Regions from separate parts of the Homo sapiens genome. Here all the other regions are linked to region 1. Evidence: promoter capture Hi-C in 16 types of primary human blood cells and fetal thymus (Javierre and others, 2016). All regions are on one chromosome and are shown on one strand. The core of a region is centred on a gene start or on the middle of the fragment in contact, and the rest is flanking DNA. Distances in the headings are between cores, read along the strand shown. Region 1 holds the start of NAPG (NSF attachment protein gamma). Region 2 overlaps PPP4R1 (protein phosphatase 4 regulatory subunit 1). Region 3 overlaps RAB31 (RAB31, member RAS oncogene family). Region 4 holds the start of PIEZO2 (piezo type mechanosensitive ion channel component 2). Region 5 has its middle 4.6 kb from the start of VAPA. Region 6 overlaps VAPA (VAMP associated protein A). Region 7 overlaps VAPA (VAMP associated protein A).

Region 1 (2,831 bases), core at 203-2,702:
AGGCTAGACAACCAAATGAAGAGGGGTCTTGTGTGTGGGTACTAAATAAGAAAGTGAGGATAGAGAAAAAAATCCAAGGCCAGTTCACCTGTTGGCACTAGAAAAAATGCAAAATATTGATTGGCAAATAGATGCAGGAAGATCGATCGATTGTGTGGTGAGGCCAAAGGGAAGAACTCTTCGAATAGTTATTTCATATTCAACAATAAGTGAGAGTTGGCAGGCAAGCAGAGATTGTGTAGGAGTTTTGAGAAGGAAGGTGTGAACAGCCCTCCAAGTGAGTGGGTGAGTGATTTGACCATGGAAACATAGGAGAGTTGCTCAGCAGCACCAAAGGTCGGCTTAATGTTTATGATCATTAAAATGAGTAATGTTAGCATCCTCGTTTGTTTTTTTCCAGTCAAATTCACTTGCTCAAGAGCAGTTCCAGAGTAGGTGGAGAGCTGGGGTTTTTCCTGGCTTGGAGAAAGGAGGGAGAGGGAGCCAAGGCCGTTGAGAGTATACGCACTAAAATGATGGGACATGAATTTATGCTGGGAAAAGAAGGACGTGTAAGAGCAGAGGGATAGGGAAAGGTGAGGAATCTGGTGAAGGTTAAGTAATTACTAGCACTAGGAGGTATGAGCTGGAATGGAAAGGGGAAGTAAAGTGAGCTGTTTGAAACTGACACTACGGAGGGTACACAGTTATGAGTAAGGTCAAGGGTGTGATCCCAGGAATGTGTGGCTGCGCTAGTGTGGGAAAGATCACAGGAGGTTGGAAGCTGAGAGGCTGTATAGTCATTGCAGGAATCATCCATGTGGATATTGAAATCACCATGAATTATGAATGAAGCCAACTGTATTACTGGTTACTATTTTTACCAGACCACTGTACGCGACTTTAGATCCCTCAACTTCCCATTTAGAGCACTTATCACGGCTTGAAATATTAGAGCGATTATTTGGGTTGGGCGCGGATTATTTGACAGTAATCAGGGTTTACAAGTCTGTTTCGTTTCTTGACTGACATACAATTAATACCCAAAAGGCAGAATGGATAGAAGAATACTATTCTATCTGTCATACAGAGAAACTTCAGATGTAATAAATTATAAAGCCAATTAACCCTACAAACAGGATCCACAGCAGTTTCACATTAATGAAAAAGCAAGACTTCAAGAGGGCGGGAGTTTTTGTCTGCTGATCTTCCCGCATCTAAAATAGTGCCTGACACATATTAGGTGCTTTGCAAATATTGAATGAAAGAATACGCCCCATCAGTATCTCACCGCGCCTGCGCTAGATGCCCTAGGTGGGGCCAGCCTTGACGCGCTGCGCCTGCGCAATGTCTCTTTGCGGGGCGCACCGGCAGGCTCCCAGCCCCGCTTCGTCGCAGCGGCTTGGGCCCTCCGGCCCTCCGTAGCCGCTCGACTGTCGCGCTGCACCAGCTTCCTCCTCGGCGTTCCCACGCCTATTTGGGCGGATTCTTGGCGCCGGAGGAAGAGGCAGGGTCACCCTCTCTCCACGTCAGAGACCTGACTGTGGAGATGGCGGCTCAGAAGATAAACGAGGGGCTGGAACACCTCGCCAAAGCAGAGAAATAGTGAGTGAGAACCTTCCGGGGGCCTGTGTGTAGACGCCGGGTCCGTCTCTCACTGGCGCGGCCTTAGCACCCGGGGGGGGCGGGAGGGAGGGCTCAGGGCTGAGGGGCCTCGGCGCGCTGGTGCCCGCAGGGCTGCCGGGGCTCGGTGTCCTCTGGGTCACACTCCCGGGGTCGGGGTCAGCTCTGCGGCGCCTCGGGAAGCGCCGTGGGTCCACCCCGCCGGAAGTCCGCTCCCCAGAGCCGGTGTGGGCGGGGACTCGGCGCAGTGCTGCGGGGCGAGGGCTTCTCTACTTGGGCGCTCTGCTCCTGAAGATTGTGGTGGGGGCTGTCTGTGCATCGGAGGCTCGTTAGCAGCATCCTTGGCCTCTACCTGCTGGGTGCCGGTCGCATCTCTTCCCCATTTGTGGCAACCCAAAATGTCATCTGGGGAACAACATCGCTCTGTTGAGAACCACCGCCCTAGAAGAGCCCCCTGTGTGGAGGGGACCATAGGTTTACCCCAAAAACTCCTCGGTGAACCTTTGTCATCTGGCATTTTACTGTCCCTGTGGGCAGGGACTGTGCTTCGTTCGTCCTTTGATGTGTATGTCCTGCCACCTCTGGTACAGTACGTAGTAGGCACCCTGCAAATGTTTGTGGGACTGAACTGATAATCCTTAATTCATCCTTTTGGCAGCCTCTTCCCCCCGTTTCATTACTCCAGTGCATTTTTATCTGGCAGTTACAGTTAATAGAAAGTCAGCATTGTGGGCCGGGCGCGGTGGCTCACGTCTGCAATCCCAGCACTTTGGGAGGCCGAGGCGGGCGGATCACAAGGTCAGAAGATCCAGACCATCCTGGCTAACACGGTGAAAACCGTCTCTACTAAAAATACAAAAAATTAGCCGGGCGTGGTGGCGGGCGCCTGTAGTCCCAGCTACTCGGGAGCCTGAGGCAGGAGAATGGCCTGAACCCGGAAGGCAGAGCTTGCAGTGAGCCGAGATCGCGCCACTGCACTCCAGCCTGGGCCACAGAGCGAGACTCCGTCTCAAAAAAAAAAAAAAAAAAGAAAAGAAAAAGTCAGCATTGTGCTCTGTGGTGGGTGCTTCACATACATAATTTCATAAGCTGAGATCTTCACAATAACTTTCCAAATAGAGATTCTAATTTTTCGTAAGAGGAAATGAGACTCAGGGAAGCCTCATAACGACTTGCCCCCAACTGCACAGGTGAAAGATCGCAGAGCCAGTTTTCAAACAGTGGAAAAA
Region 2 (2,831 bases), core at 88-2,587, 920 kb before region 1:
TATACTATATGTATATTCATATATGTATTTATATTTATATATATACACCATATGTATAATGTATTTCTATTTATATAATACAGTAGTGGCATGTTTATCTAGTTTCAAGTTAGTTACCAAGATTATGTATACAAACAGTATTTAACAGAAAGGTAGTATAACAAAGCACTTGCTCTGACATACACTTGTGGATCTCCCAAATATTATAGATATTTGTTCCCTTCAGTGAGTAAAAATTTTCTTTGCACTCTTAACGCAATTACTTTGGTAGTAACCTTTTTTCCCACAGGTAATCCAAATACAAAATTTGAACTAACTCAGGTCCAAATTGCCACCAATCTTAAATAAATGAAGTATTGAATAAATGAGTTATTTCTATCAAAAATGAATTTCATAGATTTAAATATAAAAGTGATCTACATCAGGCTGGGTGCAGTGGCTCACACCTGTAATTCCAGCACTTTGGGAGGCCAAGACAGGTGGATTGCTTGAGCTCAGGAGCTCAAGGCCAGCCTAGACAACATGGCAAAACCCCATCTCTACCAAAAATACAAAAAAATTAGCCAGGCGTGGTGGTGCAGGCCTGTGGTCCCAGCTACTTGGTAAGCTGAGGTGGGAGGATTACTTGAGTCCGGGAAGCAGACGTTGCAGTGAGCCAAGATAGTGCCATTACACTCCAGCCTGGGCAACAGAGCCAGACCCTGTCTCAAAAAAAAAAAAACAAAAACAGAAACATGGATAAATGAAAGTCAAAACCGAGTAGTAGAGACATGATGGTCCATCTGCCTTTGTATATGTCTTAAGTATCTGTAATATATAACGAACTCTCAAAATTTAATAAGAAAATGTCCCAATGAAAAGATGAGCAAAAGATGTGAAAAGGCACTTCACCAAAGGAGATAAGTTAGATGGCAAATGAGCACATAAAAAGAGTAACATAATTAGCCATTAATGCAAATTCAAGCCACAAATTAATACTATTATACATTTAATAAGAGTGGCTAAAATTAAGACTGCTCACACTAAGTGTTGACAATGATGATGAGGACCTGGAACTCTCATACACTTTTGGTGGGAATGGAAAATGATATAACCACTTTGGAAAACAGTTTGGCAGTTTTTCTTTCTTTCTTTTTTTTTTTTTTTTTTTGGATGGAGTTTCGCTCGTTGCCCAGGCTGGAGTGCAATGATGCAATCTCGGCTCACTGCAACCTCTGCCTCCCAGGTTCAAGTGATTCTCCTGCCTCAGCCTCCCGAGTAGCTAGGATTACAGGCATGCACCACCACGCCCAGCTAATTCTTTGTATTTTTAATAGAGACGGGGTTTCACCATGTTGGCCAGGCTGGTCTTGAACTCCTGATCTCGGGTGATCCACCCGCCTCGTTCTCCCAAAGTGCTGGGATTACAGGCATAAGCCACCGCACCGGGCTGGCAGTTTCTTAAAAAGTTAAACAGCCATTCTACTTCTAGATGTATACCCAAGAGAAAGAACATATATATTCACACAGACTTGTGTGTGAATGTTCATAGCAGCTTTATTTGTAACAGCAAAAAAACTGCAGATGATCCAAAAATCCATCAACATTTTAAAGGTAGAAAGCTGAGAAAAAGTTAACTTGCTCAGATTATAAAGAGAATAAATGGCAGGGCCAGAATATTAACTCAGGTCTAAAGGCTTACCAAGCCCAGTGTTCTTTCCCCTACACAAAACTATACTGAGGTATCTTCCAGAATGACTGCATGATAGATGCTCAAATACCAACCACATTCATATCAATAAGGCCAGAAAGTAAGTTAAGTTTGCTCCTTAGTCTAGGGAGATAAGAAGCTAAGATGACTTAAAAGTTAGGAGAGTTAAGAAATGAATGTGGAGGAAGCAGCATTGATGATGTCACCAGCTCAAAGATCTGTGCTAAAAGCAGAGCAAGTTCCAGACCCTCTTATAGAAATTAGAGGGAATACCTCCTCAGCCAAAATTCCATAGGTGTGCCATCCAGACTTCTGCCCAAAACACTAAGTTAGGTTTATTCTCAGCTCCAATTTAAAAACAACAACACAACTCTAATTCAAATTTAGGAACTTTCAAATTCTTTTACTCCAAAATATAAAAAAAAGATGTAATACAAACATAGGAGCAAGGTAACAATAGTTTAATAAACATACATTCATTGTTTTGAGGAGACTGAGAGAAAAGGACCAGAAATAATAAACCAGAGATCAAACAAATGTGGCAGCAGACTTCTGAACTTTACCTCCTGAGGTCTATTTATCTTTCACAGGCAGGAACAAACAAAAAGTATGCATTTAGGTGTCTTGGTTTTTTATTTTTTGGAGGGGGGAGGGCAGTGGATCGTGTAGCTACAGGCCCAAGCATATTTACAAAGGGGTTTTTCTCTCTGTCTCTCTCTCTCTCTCTTTCAATTTTATGTGGGAAGTTGTTAGCAGAGGTATCATTAATTGATCCAACACACATGTGGGTACCACTGAAACCATTTTAAAAGCACTCTTTTCTAAGATATCAATGATATTATCTCTAAATAAAGATCTCTCCATCCAGGCTTGTTGGCAGCAGTCAAAACAGGCTACCAGGTCTCACGACTCACCCTCCCAAATCCCTATTTAACAATACTCCTAAATATGATTCACGTTCAAGGGCACCTTCCAAAGGTTTCTGAATGATTCCCTGGCCACTACCAGATACAGCCCCAATATTTTGCTCCTCACCTCCCACCGGAAGCAAGGACTCTAAGCTTATCAGAACTGGTTTTGAAACATGGTAGGAAGGCCTGAAGATTCTGCACAGAGTGCGGTCTAGGCGGTTACCCTCAGT
Region 3 (2,831 bases), core at 116-2,615, 670 kb before region 1:
GCTTTAGATTGGGTGAGGAAGGCCTCCCCGGGGAAATGATTTTAAGCTGGACCTGAAAAACGAGAAAAGGCCAGTGGGCAAAGAGCTATCAGGCAGAGCAAACCGCAGGAGCCAAGTCCCAAGGCAGGAAATGTCGTGGTGCTTTTAAGGAAGAGCAAGGAGTGCTGTGGGAAGTTGTGGTTAGAGACTCAGCAGGGCCTTGCCATGGGAGTAAGGGTGATACTCTGAAACAATTGGAAGCCCCTCAAGCTTTTAAAGCAGGAGTGCAGAGTGTCCAATTTACATTTACAAAAAAAGATCACACTTAAAAGGAGGAAAGTCTCCGCATGTCTCAATCAGTTGGCATGCGATTGTAATAATCCAGGAGAGAAGTGGCTTGGACGAGGGTGGAGGAAGTGGAGCTGGATTTCAGAAATCTTCCAGAAGAACCAATAACACTGGAAGGAGATGGGGAATGAGGAAGACAGCGTTACCAAGAGTCATCCCCAAGTTCTGTTTGCCGGAATGAGGAGGATTGGCATAGGAACAAGTGATCTGGGCTGGATTTGGTTATGAGCCTAGCATATAGGATTCTGGATTGTGGTGAACCCAAGTTTTGGTTTGTAGATTATTATTATTTTTTTATTTTTAGAGATGAGGTCTCGCTGTATTGTCCAGGCTGGTCTTGAACTCCTGGGCTCAAGTGGTCCTCCCGCCTTGGCTTCCCAAAGTGCTGGGATTACAGGTATGTGCCACCATGGCCAGCTGGTTTGTGGATTTTAATTACTTAACTCGAATATCTCTTTAAAAGTATTTTAACTTTTCCTGAGGGCAAAGAGAGGTGGAGCTGCAGGCTCAGCAGAAAAATGTCTGGATTGGGGTGGAACCCAGCAAAATAGCTATGCATTTTGCTCCAGTTAATTTAAGTGTTGACTGTGGCAGAGAAAGCAGGACTTTCTCCTGAAAATTACACTTGGAGACACTAGAGACATTAGACCAGGTTTTATATTTGTTGTTAGTTTGAGAGCAAGGTGAGAAACATTTGTTTTATTAAGGTGAATATATGGGCATGGCGGTGTGCACCTGTAGTCCCAGCTACTCTGGAGACTGAGGCAGGAGGATCACTTGGGCCCAGGAGTTTGAGGCTGCAGTGAGCTATGACTGTGCCACCGCCCTGCAGCCTGGGCAACAGAACGAGATCCTATCTCTAAAATAAATAAATAAATAAATAAATAAGGTAAATATATTTAGAGGTACAAGCATATTGGCTTGGAAAATTGGAATGGGGTGTTAATATGAAAGACAACAAGTTAAGACTTGTGGGTAGTGATCATGTCTTGTTCTGGAAACATTTGTTCACAGAGTGTTGTGCTCTAGGCACCTTTAGTTAGTAGCAGGTTAAAGTAATTTTAAAGCAAAGCAAAAGGTTTGCAGATTTTATAATAGTCAGCAAGCTGTCAGGTGAAGGTAAGTTTAGCAGTTAAGGAACAAGGAAAGGACAAAGACAAAGTTTGTCCACTTTCTCACCCCAAAAAAAGTTAATTTACCAAATGCAATCCACTTAAGAAAGTGGACAGACTTTCTTACACCAAGAAAGTTAATTTAGTGAATGTAAAATAATGTCATTTCGGCATATGGGCAAGTTGGGTCTCAAAAGGCATGTCTTTTATTCCAGCAATTCTAAAGAAGAAATTCTTCAGGTGTGCAAACATAATAACAAGGTTTAATATGTACGGAGCTCTGATTCTGTGCTTTTGTTGCAATTGCTGAAATATATACTTAGCTCATTAATGCACCCTTGATCCTGTGAAGTAGGCTCTGTTATCATCCCTGTTTTACAGATGAGGAAATTGAGGCCTGGAGAGGCTTGTAACTTTCCCCAGGGCACACAGCTAATAAGTGAGAGACAGGCAGGCAGGCTCCGGGGCACATGCTCTTAGCTTGTCTATATCATGTCCCATTGCACAGCGTGGTTTATTGTAACATTATTCATGACAGCAGAAAACAGGAAATTACTGAACTGTCCAAAAGTTAGGAAATAGTTTTTAAGAAATCATGGTACACCCATATAAACAAGTGATTCAAAAGGATGACATAAATCTTTGTTTACTGACATAAAAAGATCAATCATTGAATGTGAAATGGAAGTTACAGAGCAGTTCATATAATATCCTTATTTCACAATATATCTCATATTTCATAATATTTCATAATCTATTTCAATATCATATTTCATATATTTCATAATATATTTCAATATCATATTTCATAATATATTTCAATATCATATTTCATATATTTCATAATATATTTCAATATATATAATGATAAATATTATTCCAAGAATATATCCTTCTTGGAAGGATACATATCAAAATGTTAACAGTGGTTGTTTCATGATGGTCAGATTCCAGGGAACTTAAAAAACACTTTATTATGTAAAATTTCAAACATATACACAAGTGCACTGAATAATATAGTGAACCATTGTATACTCAAAACCAAGCTTGTGCCATCTCTATCCCATCCTGTGCTCACCACCTGTATTATTTTGAAGAGAATCTCAGACATCTAATTTAATCTATAAATATTTTGTCCATAATTTTTTTAAACAATGACAACTATGTTATCATATTAATAACCAGAATGCTGTTATCATATTAATTACTATCATCAAATAAACAGTCAGTGGTCAAATTTCCAAAAAGTTCATAGTTGTCATAAATGGTTTCTTTGTTTGCATGTTACCATTTGTTTACATCAGAATGGAAATAATCTCCACATGCTGGGATTAGTTGGTATGTCTTTTAGGCCTCTCTTAAGCAATAGCTTTCCATTCCATCTTTCTTTTT
Region 4 (2,831 bases), core at 178-2,677, 620 kb after region 1:
GGTGGGAGCTGCCAGGCGCGCAGAACCATCCCCGCCACCACGGGGCTCGCCTTGTGGGTCCGGTGCGCGGGCGGCGCTGCGAGTCCCTCCCTCACTCGAAGGAACGGCGCGAGCGTGGGGAGAAATGGAGACCAGAGCGCATATCGGGTGAGTGGGTCTCCCACTCCCTCCTCCACCGCCTCAATTTAAAACTCAAGAGAAAAACCAGCGCCGTCCCGTCGCCCAGCGCGACCACCGCCTGCCGCCTTGCAGCCTCGCCCTCGCGGCGCAGCCGGGGCTCCCCGGCGGCGCGCGCTTCTCCACCTTCAATGAAACTTTCGAAGCCCTCACTCGGGGACGGGCGTGTCCCCCGGCCAATGGGATGGCGGCTCCGGGGCCTGCGCGCGCGGAGCCCGCCCCTGAGCGGCTGGGGAAGTGAGAGCCTTGCACCGGCGCGGAGGGCAAGCCCCCACCCGCGGCTCCCGCGCCTGGGAGAGACCCGGCCTGGCCTGCCAGTGGGCTGCGCGCCTTGGCTCGCCCTCCGCGGGCACTCCTGCCCCACTGGCTCCCGCAGCCCCGCGGCTCTGCGTGGTTCTGTCATTCCGGTGGTGCACCCTGGCATCCAGTCCACCCGGCCGGGCCCTGAGCTTGCCCAAACCCAGGGAACCGTTTAAGGTCCGAGGGAAACGCACAGGCCCGGCAGGAGAGAAGCCAGGGGCTTGGAGAGTCCTGTGCGACCCCGACTTCTGCTGGGTCCACAGGTGCACACTGGCATTAAGAAGAATAGAGCTGAATTCATCTACACCGTTGACCCTGCCCATATTTCACATAGCAAGAACTTGCCATTCTGAATAGACTCTGGGAAATCCCGGGTCTTCCCCAACAGATAATGCACCCACTTTGTGCATTTGGGGGAACTCTCCGTTTTCACCTCAGTTTTGCTCCTTGCTTGTCGTGGCTCTGGGGAAAGAGAGCGTTGGCACTGAGAATATTCTCCCTTTCTCCTAGTGCACTGCTTTTTGCCTGTTCTAGGCAAGATCTAGAGAAATCTGGCTCTAGCTGGGAGACTGCAGTGTGCCTGGGTCTTTTATTTAACTGTTATCCGAGAGTGGAGGAGATTTGCTAGAGCACAGTAGGGGTCTTTCCGGACATGGAGGAAGAGGCTGTTAGCATCTGTAGAGAGGACTGTTCAGGACTGGCATTCCATCAGGAGGACACACTGGGAAGGACCTGGCTTCCCTTCCGCACCTACATTCCTGGCTTGCATTAGTTGGAGGGGATAGAGCAGTGAGCTGATGAAAAACAGGCAAACCCCCGTCTTTTTAGCCATTTGAAACGCTTTTGTGGACATCCCTTTTTTGAGACAGGGTAAGCTTGTGGTTTGAGCTCAGGTGCCTTCACGAATTCTCTGAGAATTACAGAAAAACTATGAACCATTGCTTTTTGAATGAAGACTCAAGACAGTTGGCATATGGTGAAGACACCCTGAAACTTAAACCACCCATGTGCTCTGCCATCCTCAAGAAGCTTAGATAGCACCTAAACCCGGGCGTAGTCATGAGCTCAACAGCAGACCTACAGGAGACGATAGAACTTAAATTAGCATCCAGTCACCAAGAAATGCTATCAAGAAATGGTTTGTGTAGCCTGTTTGTAGAAGCCTGATATAAATCTACCACTAATTTTGATGTTCATAAGTCTGCCTTCACATCCATGCCCTCCCCACCTCACCCCATGTACGACTCATTCTTGGGAGCTAATAGGTGAAGGACTCCTGAATTTTAAATAATACTGTGTCATCACATGAATTCTGTATTCTCTGAATACTTTCTTATGTTCTTGATAGGCTTCCCATACTAACAACTGTCTAGACTTTTTCACAATAATTCTCTTTCAAAATAACATAAGCTGGGAGGCACAAGATTCCCAGCAGGTGGGTGGTCTTACCAAATAAACTTCGAGCTTTCTCTGCCACAGTGTGTACCAACTTGGCTGCTGGGGCGTTAGAGATTTTAACAACTACATCCCAGTTCTGAGACTTCCAACGTATGTACTCAAGGGGAAGTTTCAGCGGTCTAGACTACATCTGAAATAGGCTTCTCCATGCTGGCTACATGTTGCAGTCACCTGGGGAGCTTTTGAAAAACGCTCAGTCTCCACACTCCCTGAAATCCTGATTTAATTGGTCTGCGATGGGGCCCCCACACCTGTATTTTTCTTAAAGCTCTCAAGTGATTCTTAAGTATGCAGTCAGGGGTGAAGACCGCTGTCCTCATTTTCATATCAGACTCAGAAAATAGTCCATTGGCTTTCAAAACCAGCATCTCCAAACCTCATCCACCTTTCTGAAGCTGTATTTTCTTTCACAATGGACTTGACTTGAGCATACATATCCATAGCAGTGGCATTGTTTTTACAAGGGCTGTTTAACCCTCAATTTTCCCTGCTCTCATAGAAGCAGTATCTGGTGTCTAGACAGGTTAGTTTTTAAGGACTCACCAGCCCATGAGGGTATTGATCACTGTTCGGGAGCTCTGCTTGCCTGGCAAACTTTATTCCAAAGTTTGCCAGAATCTTGTCTAAAATTTGAAAGAGTATGTGAGTTTAAAAATGCTTTGGGGAGAAATCAAACATGTAAAATACTCATGGACATATTATTTTGATATTTCATGGGTACCTGATGTGTATAATCACCAGTTTACCCCGGTAATGAATTAAGCACCAGACACCCTATGCCTCTCTGCATCCACAATGACAAACAATGACTTCTTTTGATCATTATTGAGACTTTTAGTGCCTCAGCTTCTTCATCTGTAAGTTAAGGAAAGCAGTAAAACCTACCCAATATGGAG
Region 5 (2,831 bases), core at 225-2,724, 620 kb before region 1:
GAGGCATGAGGCCCCTGCTCTCATGGGGTTTACATTAAGTCATAGGTCGCATGCTAATCACTCACCATTTGTCATAAAGACAATGAGAATGTACCCTGTACAGATTGAATTATTCTGACTGAAGGTTTACATAATTTATGGTGACACTTGGCTTCTGTCTTAATGATGTCACAAAAGAAAATGTAGAATCAGGGACCAGACATTGTTTACTACACTGCTGAACAGCTCTGGGATTTATATACTCATTTCCAAAAGTACACAGTTACTAAGTCTTCTTGGTGGGCACAATCTAATTTCAGCTTAATGCATTTTTTCTTAAATTGAACCATGCTGATAAGATTGATGTATGATAAGCCACACCTGATAATTGCCCTTTACATGTAAGTCTAGAAACTTCAAGAACGATCCATACACATTTAATTAAATCTATGACTTGTATCTGAATTGTGATTTCATTTCCATTATTTAGCTTTACAATTCTTCAAAATCCACAATTCTATTGATCTTTGACCAGATTACAAATAGGAACAATGAGAGTTGCCGTGGCCATGGGCTCAGTTTGTTTGTCCCATTTGTGTATGATCGCCTTCCCCTGCGGGGAACTGGGCAAGGGGCAAGCCTGGTGGTTCAGTCCTCTGGAGTCCTGATGCTTGTTGGGCTTTTTCTTTTTGCCAGCATGCTCTGGCACTGGCAAACAAGTCATTTAGAGGGAGCTGAGGAGAGATCAACAGAATCTGAGAAAAGTAGGCAATGTGTGAGTTTTCCAAGGGTTCAAGAATTTTTATCACAGCTATAAGGTCAAGTACAATGTTGTGAGCCACTAAGGTGGATACATTAAGTCTCCAGGGTTTTCTCATTCCAAAAAAGAGCCTAGATGCAAAGGAGTGGCTTCCGCAATACAGTAAGGCAACCCTGGAGGAAGTCCGAATGGGGACAACTGAGCCATCCATAGTAATAACCATGGCCTCCTTTCCTACTTACCTCTCTGGCCACTTTTCTTCCACCCAAGCTAACTCATTCTACTTAATGAGATATTTGAAAGTTGCAGTTTCCCAAGAAGGAGTATGAGGTTCTGGTCATTTCTCTGTCTGTATTAGGTGACCTCCTACATGCCCGTGACCATTCATGCTCAAGACTTGGAGGTTCAGTTTTCAGCACAGAGCTGCTGCTCCTGAGTTCCCACCAGAACACTCTATTGCTTATTTAACATTTCCTCATGAATGTCTCAAAGGCATCTTACATCAAACTGGCTTAGTGATCTTTCCTTCCCTGCACCCCAACATCAGAATCTGGTCCTCTGTCTCTGTGACTAGTACCATCATTCATTCACCTGCACACACCGGAAGAAGGGGAGTGATTCCTCACTCTCTTACTTTCTCTTACCACCCCTGTATCTAATCAATAGCTGATTGGTTATTGATTCTACCACCTAAATATCTCTCAAATCTGTTCGTATTTATTTGCTCCATCTCCACTGTGTCTACCTTAGCCCAAACTGTCATTCTCTGCAATACCATCCTCTGTAATATCATCCTCTGTCTTCTGAATTATAGCACTAATCTAAACAGTTCTCCCCATATTCCCTCTTACTCCCCCTAATCCAATCACCACATTGTAGTCAAGAGAACTTTTAAGAATTGCTCATATGACTCTATTGTTTAAACCCTTTGATGGTTTCCTATTTTCTTATGATAAAGACTCAAATCCTTAATATGGCCTGAAACAATCTGCATAATCTGGCTTTTCAGCCTCATCTCCTGCTACTCACTACCCACTTTATTTACCATAACACATCAGCCTTTCTTCTACAATTTGCAATGAGCCACGCTCATGTCAGTCTGGCCTTTGCATATTCTGTTCTCCTTTCCTGGGTATCCAGATATCCTTCAGGAGATACTTCTTATTACTCCCTGAAGGAGATAATCTCCAAACCCTCAACTCAGTTCCCACAGGTTACTCTCCCAGTACCCTAGACCTCTCGTTCCTAGTGTTTACCACAATTCAAATGAAATAATTGTATAGTTATTTCACTTTTGTCTCTCACTCTTGAATGTAAGCCTATAAGGGTAGGGACCATGTCTATCAGCTCATGACTAATCACCAGTACCTGCCACAGTGCTGGGCACACAGCAGTAATTTAACATTTAATATTAATAAGGTAACAGTGCTGGAATCAGGCACTATTATAAGCTCTTCATGTGTAGGAACTCATTGAATCCTGGTAACAAACCCAGAATGTAGGTATTCTTCTTCTTCTCATTTTACAGATGTAAAACAGGCACAGAGAGGTGGAGTGAGCTGCAAAGATCACACAGTGGAAAATGGAACTTGAACCTAGCAGTCTAGATTCAAAGCCTGTATTTTACTTTACTGCCTCAATATTTATGGAAAGCATGCCTGTTTAAATGTTCACTGAAGTCAATAACTCAGAGAATTGCTCATAAACAAATTCATAATTATAGAGCACCTCTACTGTAAAGTTTAACATGTTTAACTATGGAGAAGTAGAGGGGTATAAGTACTTTGATACTATCCGTACTGAAAACAAAAAAAAATCTTTGCCAAGTCCATAAGAGAGAACTTGTCCAAAGGTGAATACTATTAGTGATTCAAATAGGTTGAAATAATATTCAAAGCCTTTGTACTTCTTAGACTCATGAAAATTTGGTTGCTTGATATGCTGGAGTGTATATATTTGCTAATACTTTAAGGCCTTTCTGTGCTGCATTAGCCAATCTAAAAAGAGCAAACAAAATGAACATAGGTCACATGGTTCATTATTCCTAGCTTAAATGTTAAACAATAGAGAAGTCAATGACATTTTAAATTGT
Region 6 (2,831 bases), core at 119-2,618, 590 kb before region 1:
TTGTATTTTTAGTAGAGGCAGGGTTTCACCATGTTGGCCAGGCTGGTCTCGAACTCCTGACCTCAAGTGATCCATCTACCTTAGCCTCCCCAAATGCTGGGATTACAGGCGTGAGCCACTGCGCCTGGCCAGAAGATATAATTATTTCAATCCACATGGCTAAAAATAGTTTATTGGTACAAACAGTTATATCCCTAGGAATCCATACAACTATGCAGAATGACTTTTTCTTTGAGGGGCCTAGATTGCTGGTTTCTGTGTATTAATATTTCTTGAGAAAACAACGTATCAAAACACTTTCTCCCACAGAAACCTGACTTATTAAAACCTTCAGACAAACTGGTTACTGATTACGCAAACATGCCCTTGGATTGTTCTACTTAATTAGAATTTGGCTTTTCCAGTTTTTAGTGTAGTGTATTTCCATTTACAGTCACTCAAAGCTATGCTTCTTCCAACAACCTTCTCTGGTTAATTCTCTGTACTACATGCTCATTTCTCTTTTTCCCTGTGTCCTTTTGACGCTTTGTTTTTTGAATTTGCTTCAATTTGTGCACATTTTTATATATGTTTTCAAGATCGTCTTTGTCTTGTTATGTGGTCTGCAACCTAAATTAGAGTATAACTCCTATAAACTTAACCATGTTGTAAGTTTTCGTTTTATTCACAAATTTTTGGTTCATAGTGATTAGCTTATAATCATTAACTCAGTGAAGGTTGCTAATGGAATTTTATTTAGCTTAAGCTGTATTCTGAGGCATTTTATCCAGTACATTTCCTGCTGCTGTGTATTTGGCCCCTTGAAAAAGTTGTCTTAACCTTGATAGCAGTTAATGGACTTCTCAGACACACCTTATGAATAAGACTTTATTACATAATTATTTCTTACATTTATTTACCCGTGTTTATCTTTTTGAAAGTGTAGAGATATATCTTAGAAATAATCTAAAGTTAGGGAAATAATTTCTATAATGCCATGTACATATTTTGTGTAACTGTTGATTGATTCTTTGTATAGTCTGTTATATTGGACTCATGTTACATAAATTTAGCATGACTTACAACCACATGGAACCTTAGAAAACTTAAAAGACGAGAAATTATAAATGCTTAAAAATTGCTCACGCCTGTAATCCCAGCACTTTGGGAGGCTGAGACGGGCGGATCTTGAGGTCAGGAGATCGAGACCATCCTGGATAACACGGTGAAACCCCGTCTCTACTAAAAATACAAAAAAATTAGCCGGGCATGGTGGCAGGCGCCTGTAGTCCCAGCTACTCGGGAGGCTGAGGCAGGAGAATGGCGTGAACCTGGGAGGCAGAGCTTGCAGTGAGCCGAGATTGTACCGCTGCACTCCAGCCTGGGCGACAGAGCAAGACTCCGTCTCAAAAAAAAAAAAAAAAAAACTTAAAAATTTTGAATGTTATTGAGACTGTAGAATAAATTTTAGAACTCAAGAGGCTATATGGTTTCCTTGTGTACTTTTGTTTTCTTAGAAGATTTAAATAAATTCATAAACTCTGAAATAGATGTTTATTTAAAATACAATTTTGAAAAATTAATTATATTAAAACAATATATGGGCTGGGTGCTGTGGCTTACGCCTGTAATCCTAGCACTTCGGGAGGCTGAGGAGGGCGGATCTCTTGAGCCCAGGAATTCTATACCAGCCTGGGCAAAATGACGAAAACCCTTTCTCTACAAAAAAATACAAAAATTAGCTGGGCATGGTGGCATGTGGCTATAGTCTTAGCTATTTAGGAGCCTGAAGTGGGAGGATTGCCTGAGCCTAGGGAGGTTGAGGCTACAGTGAGCTGAGATTGCGCCACTGCACTGCAGCGCAGCCTCAGCCACAGAGTGAGACCCTGTTTTAAAAAACAAAAAACAGATGGTAGTGAGGTTTTAAGTTACTGAGTATTTCTCCTTTAAATATCTCAGTTGTATAATTTTAAATCAGAAAACACTAAAATGAAGCCTAAATTCATAGTTTTAATAACTTATATTTAATCTGAGCTTATAGGCATTATAGTTAACGTTGGCAAAGTTTTGAAAATTTTCACAAGCTGAGTTTAGAAAGGGCAAAATCATAGATTCATATTTAATTTTTAATTGTAATTGTTTATTTTGTTGGTTGTGCAAAACTTAGTAAATTAGAAAGACAGACAATTTAAAAATACTTGGGATCCATTAAGTTGATTCTTAAACATTCCAGTGTTTGGTTTCTTGAACCCTTCTTGGTTTTTTTTAAATTTGCATATTTGTGAAGTAGTAGGAATGATACTATTGCCAGATACGGTTTAAGGCAAATCCCAGACTTAGTATAATTTAATCTGTAACTGTTTCAATGTATGTCTTTCAGACATGCAGGAGACAATATAATATATCCTTTTTTTCTTATTTAGTAATGCTACAGCCCTTTGACTATGATCCGAATGAAAAGAGTAAACACAAGTTTATGGTACAGACAATTTTTGCTCCACCAAACACTTCAGATATGGAAGCTGTGGTAAGTATAGAAGAAGAATTTGTTTTGGGAAGTGGAGTTTAAACTGTGGGTGTTGTTTAGCAGTCAGTAGAAAAACTTAATTTCTAAAAACTAAAAGTTAAATTTAGGTTTTTAAAAAACTGCCAATTTCTTCATTATAGATAATCCTAACTTAAAGAATGAAAGAATTTTTAAATAGTATTTTTTTTTAGAAACAATTTAGAAATGCTGCTACTGGCCTGGTGCAGTGGCTCACACCTGTAATCCCAGCCCTTTGGGAGGCCAAGATGGGAGTATCTCAAGCCCAGGAGTTCGAGACCAGCTCAGGCGACATGACAAGACCCTG
Region 7 (2,831 bases), core at 156-2,655, 570 kb before region 1:
TCACAGGAGTATTAAAAGTTCTGTAGATGTTTGTGATGTGTAGCTGAAACTGAGAATTACTGTTTATATAGGACTAATTAGCATGAGACCAAAAAAACCCAACTCCAGAAAATCCAGTAATGCAAATAAAACTGTGCCATTAGGTGTACTCTTTTAGTTAGTGTTTATTTATAAGCACAATAAAGGAATCATGGGAGAAAATATTGCCTTGTACTGAAAAAAGTAAAAAACTGTCCTGCCATTTATCAGATTGGTTAACAGACAGAGATAAAGACAACTGTGTAGTTAACAGGTATTAGTATTTTTCCCAAGGTTCACATTGCACACAGTGTCATAACAACCTCCTGCTTGGAGTGACTTCTGCTTTCTTCTGAGAAACCTTCTGCTCTAAAGACATAGTGCTGTGTGAAGCCATATCAGCAAGAATGAAGCAGCCTACTCTTGACTGGAGGATCTAAGTCATTTTGACACAGAGAAGCACCCTCATTTTCCAGTCCAGGTGCAGAGCTTCAGATAAGGGTTTCCTATGTACATTTCTCATCTAAATTTGTAGTTTCTGAAGAAACAGTATTCTTTCTCTGCTTTGCAGTCGAGACCTGGTGCTACCACTTTACACACAGCCCTCTGCTTTGCTTTGAGCATATAAAAACACTGTTACTTAAATTTCACGCTAAACTGTTTCCTTCCCCCAAATTCTGTGATACCATATCTCTGTTTACGGCAAGAACACCCTTTTGTGCCTCTGCTGTTCCGGTTCCTTAGTTGCAGTGTGTCAGTAAACCCAAATGGCAGACTACAGGTCTGGGTAGTTTTTGGCTGATTGGGCTAGGACGGATGTAACTGATTTTAAATACCATGGGCCACCTTGGAAGTACTCTTCTTTAATTATATTTTTAGTGGGATTTAAAAAAAGGTAAATATAGCCTATCTAACTTTTGCTTTTTAGGAATACATTTCTCAGCTCCAGTTTTAAAAAATCAGTGTTATTGAGGTATAATTTATATCCCATGGAGACACCCACTGTGAGTGTACAATTCATTGATACATAGAACTTTGTAACCATCACTATAGTTCAGTTTTAGAATGTCTATCACCCCCGGAAAGTTTCCTTATGTGGTTAGCAGTTAATCCCCTTTTCCGTCCCCAGCCATAGGCAACCACTAATCTACTTTCCGTCCCTATAGATTTTTAGCTCCAGTAGTCTCGTTAGTATGCTTGTTTTTAAAAACCTTTTGTGTGTGTGTTTTTTTTCTAGGATGAAGGTTTAAGGCTCAGAAAGGTAGCACATTCGGATAAACCTGGATCAACCTCAACTGCATCCTTCAGAGATAATGTCACCAGTCCTCTTCCTTCACTTCTTGTTGTAATTGCAGCCATTTTCATTGGATTCTTTCTAGGGAAATTCATCTTGTAGAGTGAAGCATGCAGAGTGCTGTTTCTTTTTTTTTTTTTCTCTTGACCAGAAAAAGATTTGTTTACCTACCATTTCATTGGTAGTATGGCCCACGGTGACCATTTTTTTGTGTGTACAGCGTCATATAGGCTTTGCCTTTAATGATCTCTTACGGTTAGAAAACACAATAAAAACAAACTGTTCGGCTACTGGACAGGTTGTATATTACCAGATCATCACTAGCAGATGTCAGTTGCACATTGAGTCCTTTATGAAATTCATAAATAAAGAATTGTTCTTTCTTTGTGGTTTTAATAAGAGTTCAAGAATTGTTCAGAGTCTTGTAAATGTTATTTTAATAATCCCTTTAAATTTTATCTGTTGCTGTTACCTCTTGAAATATGATTTATTTAGATTGCTAATCCCACTCATTCAGGAAATGCCAAGAGGTATTCCTTGGGGAAATGGTGCCTCTTACAGTGTAAATTTTTCCTCCTTTACCTTTGCTAATATCATGGCAGAATTTTTCTTATCCCTTGTGAGGCAGTTGTTGACTGAGTTTTTCATCCTTACAATCCTGTCCCATGGTATTTAACATAAAAAAAAATAAAACTGTTAACAGATTCTTGCTCGATAGCTTGTTTGTGTCTGTCGTGTTATTAGAGGGAACTCCACTATATATGGTCACTTGAAATTATGATGCAAAGGTTTCTCTTGCATTGAAACCCTCTTGGATATTACAGTATTTTTAATTGAAAGTCCTAATTCTGTTAAGGAAAGGAGTTGATTAAATTTTAAGGTACCACTGGTATTTTGGGAGATTATAATCAGTTTGTTTTCAAGATAATAGAAAATAAGGTCCATGAGAATAGAAGTTATGTGATTTCAGTGAGTTGATGTGTACAGCATGGCTGTGCTCCATCTGATTTACCCCATTCTTAAGTTCTGAGAGTATGTTCTCAAGGAAGATTTAACTCTCTTTGGTTTTAAATTACTTTTTAACCAGCCTAATAAATAAGTCTTACTACTTTTCATAATATTTCATAATAGTTAAAAGTAGGTGTTTTTTTCGTGCTCAATTTGGCACTCAAAATAATGTTCATTATGGAAGTTTGGTAATACTGAGCAAGCCTGTGGAATTTTCTTTATGAAAAATGATTTTAGCCTTTGCAAATGTTAACCATGTGAAACACATTTTCAGTATAAGTATGCGTTACAGGGTTTGATACTTTCCTGCACTTAGGTTTGTCCTATTCTTCATTTATTCATACTAGGATAGAAAATTTTGGAATCAGAAAATAGATCCAGTGTTTAGCTACATACAATCTAGTACAAGTGAATTTTTATTCTTAAACATAGGTGTGTTGGCTCTTTTTTTAAAAGATGCGCTCTACCTGAAAAGGAAATTGGATTTTAGAACTGGATGTGGTGCAGTGAA

What was found. The method cuts DNA at HindIII sites, captures the fragments that hold promoters and counts their contacts. A CHiCAGO score of 5 or more calls a contact.
Region 2: a fragment that was not itself captured here is called in contact with the fragment with the promoter of NAPG in region 1 in 1 of 17 cell types (non-activated CD4 T cells); the score reaches 5.0 in non-activated CD4 T cells.
Region 3: a fragment that was not itself captured here is called in contact with the fragment with the promoter of NAPG in region 1 in 1 of 17 cell types (M1 macrophages); the score reaches 5.8 in M1 macrophages.
Region 4: a fragment that was not itself captured here is called in contact with the fragment with the promoter of NAPG in region 1 in 1 of 17 cell types (megakaryocytes); the score reaches 7.1 in megakaryocytes.
Region 5: a contact is called between a fragment that was not itself captured here and the fragment with the promoter of NAPG in region 1, in 5 of 17 cell types (naive CD8 T cells, total B cells, non-activated CD4 T cells and 2 more). The highest score is 8.0, in naive CD8 T cells.
Region 6: a contact is called between a fragment that was not itself captured here and the fragment with the promoter of NAPG in region 1, in 10 of 17 cell types (fetal thymus, total B cells, naive CD4 T cells and 7 more). The highest score is 13.1, in fetal thymus.
Region 7: a contact is called between a fragment that was not itself captured here and the fragment with the promoter of NAPG in region 1, in 15 of 17 cell types (total B cells, naive B cells, fetal thymus and 12 more). The highest score is 14.9, in total B cells.

Annotation. Positions count from the first base shown.
Region 1 is chr18:10,524,575-10,527,405 of GRCh38, forward strand. NAPG (NSF attachment protein gamma) reads left to right here and starts at 1,453. Exons shown (of 12, transcript NM_003826.3): 1 at 1,453-1,584. The coding sequence starts at 1,529. RefSeq lists a silencer at 1,596-1,845. The HindIII fragment of the contact is 5,497 bases long and covers 1-2,831 here.
Region 2 is chr18:9,606,653-9,609,483 of GRCh38, forward strand. The region is part of intron 2 of PPP4R1 (protein phosphatase 4 regulatory subunit 1); the gene reads right to left. Among named protein-coding and RNA genes, the nearest start is that of PPP4R1, 6.5 kb to the right of the region's middle. The HindIII fragment of the contact is 2,824 bases long and covers 1-2,749 here.
Region 3 is chr18:9,849,679-9,852,509 of GRCh38, forward strand. The region is part of intron 6 of RAB31 (RAB31, member RAS oncogene family); the gene reads left to right. Among named protein-coding and RNA genes, the nearest start is that of TXNDC2, 35 kb to the right of the region's middle. The HindIII fragment of the contact is 2,236 bases long and covers 248-2,483 here.
Region 4 is chr18:11,149,260-11,152,090 of GRCh38, forward strand. It overlaps PIEZO2 (piezo type mechanosensitive ion channel component 2), which reads right to left and starts at 310. Exons shown (of 56, transcript NM_001378183.1): 1 at 1-310. RefSeq lists a silencer at 213-662. The HindIII fragment of the contact is 154 bases long and covers 1,351-1,504 here.
Region 5 is chr18:9,907,983-9,910,813 of GRCh38, forward strand. No RefSeq gene overlaps it. Among named protein-coding and RNA genes, the nearest start is that of VAPA, 4.6 kb to the right of the region's middle. The HindIII fragment of the contact is 5,806 bases long and covers 1-2,831 here.
Region 6 is chr18:9,933,708-9,936,538 of GRCh38, forward strand. VAPA (VAMP associated protein A) reads left to right here. Exons shown (of 6, transcript NM_194434.3): 3 at 2,403-2,506. Among named protein-coding and RNA genes, the nearest start is that of VAPA, 21 kb to the left of the region's middle. The HindIII fragment of the contact is 7,615 bases long and covers 1-2,831 here.
Region 7 is chr18:9,952,798-9,955,628 of GRCh38, forward strand. VAPA (VAMP associated protein A) reads left to right here. Exons shown (of 6, transcript NM_194434.3): 6 at 1,256-2,831. The coding sequence ends at 1,414. Among named protein-coding and RNA genes, the nearest start is that of VAPA, 40 kb to the left of the region's middle. The HindIII fragment of the contact is 9,151 bases long and covers 1-2,831 here.